Linked DNA regions of Homo sapiens: regions 2, 3 and 4 are each linked to region 1. The links are contacts of gene promoters, found by promoter capture Hi-C in blood cells and fetal thymus (Javierre and others, 2016). All regions are on one chromosome and are shown on one strand. The core of a region is centred on a gene start or on the middle of the fragment in contact, and the rest is flanking DNA. Distances in the headings are between cores, read along the strand shown.

Region 1 (3,222 bases), core at 259-2,758:
TAATACCCCACCTGACAAGAGCAAAAGATCTAAAGAAATGACTTGGTCCCAATACCTCAAATTCCCAGGCCCCAAAAGCATAACCATTGAGCCTCTGAGCCCTATTTGGTTAAGCATTAAGACGGGTTTGGGCTATGTTAAAAAGAGAACCCCCAGTTCCAGATAAAGGATGTGTCTCTATTCACCCAGATTGGGGCAAACGTCCCACCCGGCCTTGGCGCGACGCCACCACCCTCTGGGCGTAAGAAGACCAGGGCAGGTGGAGGGCCAGCTTGGCTGCACGGGCACGCGGAGCGGCATTACCTTCCCCGCACGTGTACCGTTTCTCCTCATAAGAGGTATCCGTGAACTCCAGGAGCAGGCGGATGGCGTGCGCCAGCTGGGGAAGACAGCGGTTCAGCGACTGCGCAGCTCCCACCCATTCCCAACCCCCGCCCGCTAACGTTCCCCGGCCCGGGGCTGCCGAGTCCCTGCGTCCTGCCGGGGCGGTGGTTAAGCGGCCCCTAGGCCCGGCTCCGGCGTGGTCTCCTCCGCCCCTCCCCACAGGGCCCGCGATCCCAGAGGCTGGGCAGGGGTCGACATCCGTGGCTCGGCAGCTCGAAAAGGCTCCCGCGTAGAGCTGCTCCTGCTGGAGATCGCGGACCCAGAGACCCGCCCTCTCCGCGTCAGTCTCTTTGACCGAGCGGCTCTACCGTTGAGACGGCACTCACCCCACGAATATCCCAGTACCCGAGAACCATAGACGACTCGCACGACATGGTGACGGGCTTCCGAGCCTTCGAGGACTAGGGAAACTGTGAGCGGGAGGGGCTTTATACCCGACATAAGGGGGCGGGGCCCACGCGCGGGCGCCCTGACTCCGCCTCCGCCCCGTTCTCCGTCCCTTGCCTCCGCGGCTCCACAGGGCCGTGCGCAGGCGCGACTAATGCCGGCGTTGGGGTTCAGGGCCTGGCGACCCCGAGGCGGGACCCGGGCAGGAGTGCTGCAGGAGAGCAAAGGACCCGAGGTTGAGGCTCCTCCCTTCCCCGCGGGTGGGAGCCAGACTTCATTCATTAATGGTGCCAGTGAAGACGCGAAAAGCACCACTAGCCAGGCAGTGGGGACCCTAGTTACCCAGGGAGAGCGAGATTCGCGCCGTTTTTACCGAGCCAGCCGGGGCTGGATGAAGGATAGGAAGACTGGGGCAAGGCCGGAGAGTCAGACCAGCCTCTGACCACACAGAGCAGAAGATTCCCCACAGACCAAGCTCCCCTCTCTGTCAGTCAAGGACCTCTGCAACCTGACCCCAACGTGCTTTTCCAGTCCTGTCTCTCCCTCAGCCCGTCACAACTTCATAAGCCAGCCCAACCCAACAATACTTGCTGTTCCTTCTACACACACTTGCATTTCCCACCTTGGAGTGTTTGCTCTGTGATCCTCCTACCTGCATCCTAATTTCCACAGCCTATCCTTCCTCAGCAGCCTTGCTGAAATGTCTGCCTATTCCTTGAAGCCTTCTCAGAACCAACCTCTATCCTGGCCAGAAGAGGTCTCTTATCTTGAATGTTTCCTACCTTTGTTTTATGGGCTTAAGTAATTTATGGATTCCTTATTATAATTTCCTCCTCCAATCCCTCCCACTTCCTAATGCTCACGCATTTAGGGAAATTAATCTTGCCTCTTTGTGTAGGATGGACTGGAGGAGGAAAGGTACTACCATTTTTCATTCACTCATTCATCTGTCCAACAATGTTTAACATGCCTGTTATGGACAGGCACTGTTTTAGGTGCTGGGGATACAGAACTGAACTCAACAGACAAAATCCCTGCCCTCAGGAAGTTTACATTCTAATGGGGAAGAAATAAACTAATATATAGTAAATAGCTAGTAAGTCAGGTGGTGATACACATCCTATGGAGAGAAATAAAATCGAGAAGAGAGATAGGGGGTCTCAGGGTGGGAACTGGGGGAGTCCCAGTAGGAAGGGGATTTATGTTTTTAAAGGTTATGTTCATAGAAGGCCTCATGGAGAAGTTAATCTTTAAACAAAGACCTGAAGGAGGTGAGAGATCAAGCCACTCTGCTGTGGGGGCCACCATGGGCTGATATAAATATAAAACAGAATAATTGCTGTTCCTTTTACAAGCATGTTTGCTCTGCTCCTGCCTGCACCCTAATGTCCATGGCCTAGCCTTCCTCAAGTAGCCGTGCTCAAATGCTCACTTCTTCCTTGAAGCCTTCTCAGAATCACCCTCTATCCTGGCCAGAAGAGTTCTCTCCCTCTCTTATCTCGAATCACTTCCTACCTGCAGGAGGCAGAGAGAACTCCAGGAAAAGGGAAACAGCAAGTACAGGAGTGATCACTCTGTGTTTGAAACCAGAGACTAGATGAGATCACCATGGGAGCACGAGTAGCAGAGATGAGGTCTAAGGGTTTGAGGTGCTCTGGCATATCAACATGTAAAGGTTAGGGAAAAATGAGAGCAAACCAGCAAAGGAGTCTGAAAAGGAGTGGCCAGGGAGGTAGGAGGAAAACAAAAGGTCCCAGAAGCCATGTGAAGATGTTTAAAGGGAGAAGTGATCAACTATGTCAAGTGTGGCTGATCAAGTAAGATGAAGATGGAGAATCAATGGTTGAATTTAGGAAAGTAGGGGTTTTGACCTTGACAGAGCAAGAGACCTGCCCGAGGCCCCTATAGTCATGGGAAGAACTAAGCTTCTGAATTTCGGCAGGGCCCATGCAAATGAAAAGGGGCACAGATTTGCAACAGGGTCAACTCGGGAGACATAGGATTCTAGTTGAATGTGGAGGAGTGACAGAGGAAGGAGTCCGGAGCTGCTCTGAGGGTTCTGGCCAGGCCTCTGCAGCACAGCTCTCAGGGCAGTCTGAGAGCCTAGATCCCCTAGCTCAGGTGTGGGAAATCACATTTGCCCATCAGTTCAACTGAAGCAAGGTTGGGACTTTTTAAAAGGGCATTTTGCTAAACAGAAGAAAGGAAGAGTACAAACCACATGGACAGGTGAAATTTATAATGCCTGTGTCTCTCCTCCCAAGAAAGCAAAAGGCCAGTCACAAATTCACCTGAGGTATAAGATTAACATTTATTGAGCACCTATCATATGCCAGGCAATATCTAAGTGTTTACGTATGTTAGCTAATTTATTCCAATTTAAGCTTCACAACAACTTTAGGAAGTAGGTGTTATGCCCATTTTCTTTTCTTTTTCTTTTTTTTTTTTTGC
Region 2 (3,222 bases), core at 506-3,005, 240 kb before region 1:
TTTATTGGCATTCACATACACACACACACACACGCACACACACACACTGAAAGCAGTTCTGTTTAAGTTTTAAATTGGGGAAGAATACTTTCCATTCCATTTGTCTGAGAGCAGCAGCAGTCTGCCTGGAGTGGATGCAAAGAAGCAGGAACAGCAAAACAGCAGTGCAGAGGCTTGAATATTCGTTTTTTATCTTAATTGCTTTTTCTGTCCTGGGATCCAGGAATGAAACACTAGTCAGGCATTGTGTGCAGAGCCTCAGCAGTTCTCACCAGCACTGCACAAAGACGACAAGCTGAAAGGCAGAACTGCCCTGGAGGGTGGTTTGAAGTAGCCCGTCTCCAGCATGGCGCTGGGCTTAACCCCTTCATGTAGGCAGAAATTACCTCCAGTGAGGGGACCTTCCCCCTACCCACCCACTCAGGAGACTCAGCTAGTCACCAGATGCATCACAGAATAACAATCTCAGTTTATAATCCTGCTATTGCTAGGATTTCCCAGATGAGTTTTTAACCTCTGTTGGAAGCAGATTAAGGAACGACTTCAGGCTATTCAGTGGCATCTGAGGAGCCAACTCTGTCTCACTGAGTATACATGAGTGGCCCCCTAGCACCCCTATCTTTAAAGCAGATACCCAGTTATCTCATGGTGCTTTCTAAGGATGCTCAGTTCTGCTCAGGCCCCCCAAAAGCAAACTATGACCAAGTGAGGGAGCAGTGGGAGGTAAGGGAAATGCAGCACAAAGTACAATCCAACTCCAGTACTTGCCAACCTGTATGTGTGCGCACATGCACGCATACACCAGCCTTGGAGGCAATGACTCCTGCCTAATGTATGCCAGTGCCAAAGGGCATCCAGAAGTCCCACTGCAGGGCTCCACGTCCTGGCTCACTGCAGGTTGGTTCTCTCAGGCCATGGTTCCAACCAGGGAGAGTAAACAAGCTGACTAGATTGGAGGCGTCAGGGCAGGTCTAAGTGTCTTCACCATTTTGCATTTTCCACCTAAGAGTGTAGAAGCCTGATGAAGGGGCTTGACTGGCAGCTGCTTTAGCCTTCCTCTCTCAAGCCCCAGGAGAGGAAGCATTCAGCACAGGCTGACTGTGACTAGACCAGAAAAGCCAACCGTCCCACTGCAGGGGCCTGAGCCTTTTCTGCTATGTGGGTGGAGAAAGTGAAGCTTCCCCACTGGTTTCCTGGGAGATACAAGATAAGTGGTGCAAGAAGTGCATGCAGAAAGGGAAGGAGTTGAGAGACTGGGGGGAAGAGAGGCCAGGTTAACCAATGCACTGAACTCTTACCTATTCTCAAAGAAAACTGTCATATTAGCCTCCTCCCTCCCCGCAAGTGCTACCTAAGAGGAGCCAGGGTAAGTGCTGCAAGGCATGGCAGACAAAATTGCACATCTTGGCCAGAATCTAAGGAACTTCTTGTGGTTTGGGGGAGGTGGTGAGGATGTGGGTGGTGGGTGGGTGGGGGGTGTTGAAGAGATGCAGCCATGGACTTCCTTGGGCTTGGCACAGGCCAAAACAGAAGAGAGAACTCCAAACTCCAAGTAGTCCTCATCAGACTTGCTCTCCTTATCAGCTTCATCCTGTCAGCCAAATTGTCAGCCATAGAAAAACTGCTTTGCAGATGAAAAACTATATAAATGCAGAGTATGGGAGTGCTCTGACATCAACAGCTGTCATTTCACTGACTGCCAAGGTTGACTTGTCTGATGTGGCTGGTTGTGCAGTAGCTCCACCCCTCGTCACCTTGGTTGTTCCTCCTGAAGTGAAAAACAACTTTCCAAATAGAGGAGGGCTGCCCTTCGGTCAAGACTTTAGGTAAGTATTCAAATTCGCATTCTTTTAATTTTTTTCCTGGTATCATTTCCTCTCCCTCTTTGGAATCTGCCACGACAGCCCCCTTCTAGAATCACCAAGAGAGGAGCCAAAGAATCAGCATGGTTAGAGTTTTAGAGTCCAGTCCAATTTCTGGTAGGCTGAATCTGTACCAAAACGTAGGGACTGCATTTTTCTGTTCCACGCAATGCCTAGGACACACTAAACTGTCAAGGAAGATTAACCTGCCCATTAGGTGAATATACTTTTAGCCTAAGATGGCTACCATTTACAACATGAAAATACTGATAATAAAATTCTGTGAAAGTGAGCTGCTGCCCACCATTTTTTAAAACCCAATCCAAGCATTTTTTCCATGGTATGGTCAGTAGGCTTGATCCAGACTTTTAAGAGAACTCGGCAGGGAGGCAACCCTCTGCCCTAGGGATCCAGGAAGACTTCATTATCTACAAGCCTCAGCGAGCGCCAAGTCATGGGATTTCTAAACTCTAAAGCTTCAGTGACATTTGAGAATCTTAGGGGTCAGCAAAGTATGGTCTGTTGGTCAAACCAGCCCACTGCCTGGTTTTATGTGGCCTGTGAGCTAATAGTAGTTTATATATATATATATATATATATATAACATTTTTTTTTTTTGAGATGGAGTCTTGCTCTGTTGCCCAGGCTGGAGTGCAGTGGCGCTATCTTGGCTAACTGCAAGCTCCACCTCCCGGGTTCACCCCATTCTCCTGCCTCAGCCTCCTGCGTAGCTGGGACTACAGGCGCCCACCACCACACCCGGCTAATTTTTTGTATTTTTAGTGGAGACGGGGTTTCACCGTGTTAGCCAAGATGGTCTCGATCTCCTGACCTTGTGATCCACCTGTCTCGGCCTCCCAAAGTGCTGGGATTACAGGCGTGAGCCACCGCGCCCGGCCTAGTTTATATATTTTTTAATGCTTGGAAAAACTCAAAAGGCATGTTAAAATATGAAATTCAAATTTCAATGTCCATAAGTCAAATCTTTTTTGGACCACAGCCACAGTCATTCATTTTTGTCCTGTCTGTGGCTACACTCAAGCTATAGCAGCACAGCTGAGTTGTAACAGAGACTGTGTGGTCTGCAGAGCCTAAAATATTTACTATCTGGCTCGTTAGGGAAAATGTTTGCTGACCCCGGTCCATCTTAATGCCTAGATGTGTATTTCACCCATGTCCGTACAATAGCACTTAAAGATTTTCTTCCTAGATAGGACACACCCTTCTGAGGTACAGTGAACCCCACCCACAGGCTGAAAAAATAAACCAGTCAGATTGTGCCAGAACAGAGACTCAAGCCAGGTTTAATGATCATTGTCTAGTTTTCAGAGCCCAGAGGCTCCAAGATTTGCCAGCCTAG
Region 3 (3,222 bases), core at 321-2,820, 190 kb before region 1:
GCAAGTCATTTTTACTTTATCACTATGGAACTTAGTTTAAGTTGAGATCTATCTACTTACCCTGTGTCTCCTGACACATGATATATTTTCTTTCTTATGGGGGTGTAGTTTAACATGGTGATTAATAGCATGGGTCCTGAAGTCAGACTGCTTTAAATCCTAATTCCCATTTACTAGTTATAGCCTTGGGAAAGTTAATTTCTCTTGGCCTCAGTTTTCTTATCTTTAAAATGGAGAAAATAGAGCTACTCCTAGGATTGCTGTGAGGATTAAATATGGTAATAATGTAAAGCAGAACACAGCTTGGCACATAGTACTAGCTCCATGAAGATTAGCTATTCTTATTAAGTCAAAATGAATGTTACAGATTGTAGGTATTATGGAAATTATACCAAATTAAGCAGCTAGTGTGGGCCAGATTATTTACAGACACTTCAGTATTGTAATTCTTCCTTTGATAACCTTTGGTTTGAATTTCATTTAGATGTTCTTGGAAAGGGCTGGGCGTGGTGGCTCCTGGCTGTAATCCCATCACTTTGGGAGGCCGAGGCTGGTGGATCACCTGAGGTCAGGAGTTCGAGACCAGCCTGGCCAACATGGCGAAACCCCATCTCTACTAAAAGTACAAAAATTAGCCGGGCGTGGTGGTGTGCACCTGTAGTCCCAGCTACTTGGGAGGCTGAGGCAGGAGAATCGCTTGAACCCGGGAGGTGGAGGTTGCAGTGAGCAGAGATGACGCCACTGCACTCTAGCCTGGGTGACAAAGTGAGACTCTTTGTCTCAAAAAAAAAAAAAATAAAGTGTTCTTGGGAAGATCTTGGTATATCAAATTAGTGTTTAATTATGACATTCTATTGAAAAAATACCATGCAAAGCTTCCCAACCAATGTTCCAGTGCTTAGGATGGCATATAGGTGTGCTGTTTACAAATTTTTTATAGCATTGAAATTTTAAATCATTTTTATAAGTTCAAACTTTTACAACAGTTGAAATTACATTTGAACATCTTTGGTATGATTTCCTCTTGTATAATTCATGAATTTGGTAATTTGGTTATTTACTATTTAAACAATTAGAGATGGGGGTCTCATTATGTTGCCCAGGCTGGTCTCAAATGCTTGGCCTCATGTGATTCTCCCATCTCAGCCTCCCAAAGTGCTGGGATTACCAGTGTGAGCCACTGTGCCTACCCTACCATGAATTTGGTAATTTGAAAAAATTTTATTTGGTATAAATACTAAATTTATACCAATTTAATATTTAATATCATTTGTAATACTTTGTATTTTTTTCATGCCATAATTTCATAATAAGAAATTTTGTGTGTGCGGGTTTTGTTTTTGTTTTTTTTTGACCCCAGGGCAAGCAAGAAAATTTTTTTTCACCAAGCTCTTTCAGCTCACCCCAATGAGCCTTACAAATATTTTTAATGTGTGCCATCATGTGACAAAGGTTGGGAAGCACTGGTATAATGGATAAGAGCACTGCTTTTGGATTCACACAAAACTGAATTTAAGTTCTACCTCCACTTATTAGCTCTGAGACCCAGAGCAAGTAACTTAACCATAAGAATAATAATTTTTACATATGTAAAGCAGAGATGATGTTTCATAATATGAAATGAGATAATGCATGTAAAATGCTTCACATTAGTGCCTAGCAAATAAAAAATAGTAAGTGGTCACTTCTATTGATGATGATGATCGTGAGAATTACCATTTTAGCTACTTTTTTCAGAGGTTTTTCAGACAGCTGTTTTATTATTTTTCATATTAATATACTATTTTCAAAGATCTTCAAAGAATTTTAATATCCTTTTGTGGTGAAAGGAATTAAATGTTAGTCCTTTTTTTTTACTCATCACTGTACTAATGAAGATACTTAGTTTTGTAAATTATTGAATTATCTGCTCTCTGTATTTCTGTTTCTTGATAGTTTCCTTTAGCAGGTTCTGAGAAAACATAAAAAAAAACTTTGTTCTTTGGGATTTGCTGGTGGTAGTATGGCAAAAAGCCAGTTGCATGCAGAGAACTGGAATCATCTAATTTACTTAAACTCTATATTATACAGTTAATTATATTTAAATTGCTGCATATTATTGGCTGAATATGCTTATTATTGAGAATAAGACTGCCCTTTGGTAAACATGCCATTACATTATATCCTCCTATGGGATTATACCCTTTATTATGTTTGCCATTTGCTTGGGATAAGGTTCATGGCCAGTTACATTTCATGTGAGGATGCATCTGTGTTTCGGGGAAAAAAAGCTTTGTGTTTTATAAGCATGTATCATTCTTTGTGTCTTTTATTTAAATGCATTAGTCACTTTTTTAACATTTCAATAGGTTTTTGGGGAACAGGTTATGTTTGGTTACGTGAATAAGTTTAGTGGCAATTTCTGAGATTTTGGTGCACCCATCACCTGAGCAGTCTACACTGTACCCAATGTATAGTCCTTTATCCCTCACCACCTTCCCACCCTTTCCCCCGAGTCCCCAAAGTCCGTTGTATCATTCTTAGGCCTTTGCATCCTCATAGCTTAGCATCCACTTACAAGTGAGAACGTACGATGTTTGGTTTTCCATTCCTGAGTTACTTCACTTAGAGTAATCGTCTCCAGTTCCATCCAGGTTGCTGCAGATGCCATTATTTCATTCCTTTTTATGGCTGAGTAGTGTTCCATGGGTGTAGAGGGGTGTGTGTGTGTGTGTGTGTGTATATCACATTTTCTTTATCCACTCGTTGATTGATGGGCATTTGGGCTGGTTCCATATTTTTGCCATTGTGAATTGTGCTGCTATAAACATGCGTATGCAAGTATCTTTTTTGTATAATGGCTTCTTTCCTCAGGGTAGATACTCAGGAGTGAGATTGGTGCATCAAATGGTAGATATACTTTTAGTTCTTTAAGGAACCTACACACTGTTTCCCATAGTGGTTGTACTAGTTTACATTCCCACCAACAGCGTGAAGGTGTTCCCTTTTCATCACATCCACACCAACATCTATTTTTTTTTTATTATGGCCATTATTGCAGGAGTAAGGTGGTATCACATTGTAGTTTTGATTTGTAGTTCCTGATAATTAGTGATGTTGAGCATGTTTTCGTAAGTTTGCTGGCCATTTGTATATCTTGTGAGAATTGTCTATTCAAGTCCTTAGCCCACTTTTTGATGGGATTGTTTTTTTCGTGCTGATTTGATTTCCTTGTAGATTCTG
Region 4 (3,222 bases), core at 384-2,883, 170 kb before region 1:
CCAGCTACTCCCAGCTACTCAGGAGGCTGAGGGAGGAGGATTGCTTGAGCCTGGGAGATTGAGACTACAGTGAGCTGTGATTACGCCACTACGCTCCAGCCTGGGTGACAGAGCAAGACTCTGTCTCAAAACAAAAAACAAACAAACAAAACCCCATGTTTAGGTAAATACAGTGATTCTACATTAGAGTACATATTGTTGAATTTTTTTTTTGGTCTAACAGTGTTGATGATTATGTATCCAAACTGTAGATAAACACAGATGATTTTCTTTTTCTTTTTGCCAGAACAAGGTCTTGCTCTGTGCCCAGGTTTGAGTGCAGTAGCACAGTTGTAACTCACTGCAACCTTGAACTCCTGGGCTCAAGAGATTTTCCCAAGTAGCTGGGATTACAGGTGTGTGCTACCAGGCCCAGCTAATTTTTTGTGTTATTCTTGTTGTTTGTTTTTTTTTGGTAGAGATGAGGTTTGCCTATGTTGCCTAGGCTGGTCTTGAACTCATGGCCTCAAGTGATCCTCCTGCCTTGGCCTCCCAGAGTGATGGGATTATAGGTGTGAACCAACCATTCCCTGTCCCCAGATAGTTTTCTAAATTAATCCTCTCCCTTTATTCTCTGCAGATTGCCTTGCCTCTTTTATTGAGAATGAAACTAACATGGCTTCCTTCCTCCTTTTATTCTCAAAAATCTCCGTGACTTCACCTCTCATCCTTTTCTCCTACTTATATAGGATATCCTTTAAAGGATAAAGCTTCTGTGTTGAACGGATCCTATTGCCTCCTGTTTCTGGGACCTTTCCAACTTTTTCTCCCCTGTGTATCCTAACCCCCTGCATAGTTCCATCCCTTCTGCATACAGAGTCCTCTTCAGTTCCTCCCTTTTGAAGCCATAGCTGCTGTCTTTGCAGTATCCTTTGCATCTTCCCATTCTTTGTATTTCAACTATTACTTCCCTGGTGTATTGAAGATGGGCAACTGAATCTCTCCTTAAACTTGTGATACATTTTTGAAAAAAGATAGATAAAAGATGCAGATAAAATTAGGAAGTTCTGAACACCACATGTGTTGTGGAGTAGGGAGATGGAACATAGGAAGCAGCTTGGGGAAAACGCAACAATGAGATGTTATGAAAAGGGAGCTTACTGCTAGAACAATGGAGCACAGAGAGTTGAGGTAAAAGTGAAGAGCCCAGACCTAATAAGAAAGGGTTATAGAAAGTGTTTCAATAATTTGGAGAATTATTAGATAAACTGATGGTTTTAAAAATAGTGCCCCTGAGATGGAACTGGAAGCTCAGGAGAAGATATTAGTGTGATAATAAAGGGAAAGGCAAACTGACATTTTCTCAGGGAGCCTTGGAAAAATGTGAGAGAGGTAGGGCAACAGAGGGTTTTTTGTTTTTTTTTTTAATCAGCGCATCCATAGGGTAGGATTAATGAGATAGGTAGAAATTGATTCTGAGATTAATGGATTTATTATTTCATTCAAGATAATCTCACATGAATGATGGAAATGTGGTTTTCAATATATAAAAGAATGGTACACATTAATTCATTAATCTCAACTTTTCTTAATTTAGTAGCTCTTGTTACTATGGATAATCTGGGAATTCTGTCTTTTAAGCAATTTAAAATATAACTGGTATGCATTTGTATTTTCTTCCCAGAGTAGAATCATTGGATTTTTTAGATATGAATGAGAGGATTCACCTTTTTATAACAGCATCCTAAGAAAGTCACTATGTGCTATTTGAGTATTAACTATTTAGTACTACCCCTGATTATCGATTATGTAATAAGACAAGATCATATATAAATGTACCTTTTGATTCTGTAAGAATGTAGTTGTCTAGAATTTTTATATTTGGATTTTAATTAACTTTTGGTTAGTAAAGTTGAGAAATATTTAGTAAAGAATCATGGTTACTAAATATTATTCATTGTTTAGTAATATTTATTTGAGTAGATAATTTATGTCATGACCAGTTTAAGGCCCTGGGAATGCAGGGATGAATAAGCCTTCATGGAGCTTATATTTTAGTGGGGAAGATAAGAAATGAGCTAATCTGTCATGTGAAGAAGTGGTAAGTGCTATGAAAAAATATAACACAGAATAAGGGGAGAGACTGTGACGGGGTGGGAGCTATTTAGATAGATTAGTCAGAAAAGGCTGTTCCTGTGAGGAAGAAAATCTTGCAAAACTTATTTCAGGTAACAGTAAACGCAAAGACAGGAAAGACAGAGTCAGGACCTAACTCAGTAAGAACCGGTTTGGTATGTTGGAGGAAAAGCAAGAATGCTGGTCTGACAAGAGCTGTGAGGACAAAGTGGAGAGTAACAAGAGATGAGGGTGAAGAGGTAGGCAGGGGCCAGAGCATATTGCACCATAATGCCCATGGATTTTGAGTATAATTGAAGATCGTGTGACAAGATCTAATTTACATTTTACAAAGTTTATTCCACCTACTGACTGGCAAACTGGCTTTAGAAAAGGCAAGGTCTGAAGCACTGAACTATTTAGGAAGCTTTTGCAGTGATCTAGGCCTATGGTTTCCAATGTTCAGGAACAAACTGTTAAAACTATTATATTAACTATTTATATTGCTTTATTTAAAAAAATTAAGCTTTACTAATATTTAATATACAGATTGGCACTGGCATCCTTGTCTTATCTGCACGTTAGTCACATGTCATTTAACATTTTTGGCTTGAGCAACTGGTGAATGTTGGTGCCATTTACTGGAATGAGAAGACTGAGGGAGGAGCAGGGTTTGTTTTGAGGTGAGAGTGAGTTGGGGAATCAGTATCTCAGTTTTGAGCATTTTAGGTTTGTGAAATCTAAATACCTACTAGAAATCTAATATCAGGTAGATGGTTTAGATATATGAATCTGGAGCCAAGGTTAGAAGCCAAGATTAGAGATCTAAATTTGGAAATCATTAGTATAGAGACAGTATACACCAGCTTTGGAGCCAAACTGTGAATGCAAATTTCAGTTCTGCCACTTACTAACTGTGTAATTATAGGCAAGTTACTTGACATCTGTCTGCATCATTTATCTCATCTGTAAAATGGGGGTAATAATGTCTACCTCATAGGGTTATTGTGAGGATTAAATTAGTTATTACAAACAAAGTGATTAGAACAGTGTGGCCGAGGGTACTCACTAGATGTTAACTGTTAGGATCAGTTTTTGAATAGTGTTTAAGCCATGAGATTAGGGCCG

The links. The method cuts DNA at HindIII sites, captures the fragments that hold promoters and counts their contacts. A CHiCAGO score of 5 or more calls a contact.
Region 2: a contact is called between a fragment that was not itself captured here and the fragment with the promoter of GSTM3 in region 1, in 1 of 17 cell types (M1 macrophages). The highest score is 5.1, in M1 macrophages.
Region 3: a fragment that was not itself captured here is called in contact with the fragment with the promoter of GSTM3 in region 1 in 1 of 17 cell types (erythroblasts); the score reaches 5.1 in erythroblasts.
Region 4: a contact is called between a fragment that was not itself captured here and the fragment with the promoter of GSTM3 in region 1, in 1 of 17 cell types (erythroblasts). The highest score is 5.3, in erythroblasts.

Annotation. Positions count from the first base shown.
Region 1 is chr1:109,739,530-109,742,751 of GRCh38, forward strand. It overlaps GSTM3 (glutathione S-transferase mu 3), which reads right to left and starts at 1,509. Exons shown (of 9, transcript NM_000849.5): 1 at 1,424-1,509; 2 at 711-982; 3 at 304-379. The coding sequence starts at 758. RefSeq lists a silencer at 719-948. The HindIII fragment of the contact is 14,932 bases long and covers 1-2,694 here.
Region 2 is chr1:109,501,038-109,504,259 of GRCh38, forward strand. It overlaps AMIGO1 (adhesion molecule with Ig like domain 1), which reads right to left. Exons shown (of 2, transcript NM_020703.4): 2 at 3,141-3,222. Among named protein-coding and RNA genes, the nearest start is that of AMIGO1, 7.1 kb to the right of the region's middle. The HindIII fragment of the contact is 1,161 bases long and covers 1,176-2,336 here.
Region 3 is chr1:109,551,382-109,554,603 of GRCh38, forward strand. All of the region lies in intron 1 of GNAI3 (G protein subunit alpha i3), which reads left to right. Among named protein-coding and RNA genes, the nearest start is that of GNAI3, 4.4 kb to the left of the region's middle. The HindIII fragment of the contact is 1,395 bases long and covers 874-2,268 here.
Region 4 is chr1:109,568,419-109,571,640 of GRCh38, forward strand. The region is part of intron 1 of GNAI3 (G protein subunit alpha i3); the gene reads left to right. Among named protein-coding and RNA genes, the nearest start is that of GNAI3, 21 kb to the left of the region's middle. The HindIII fragment of the contact is 1,772 bases long and covers 748-2,519 here.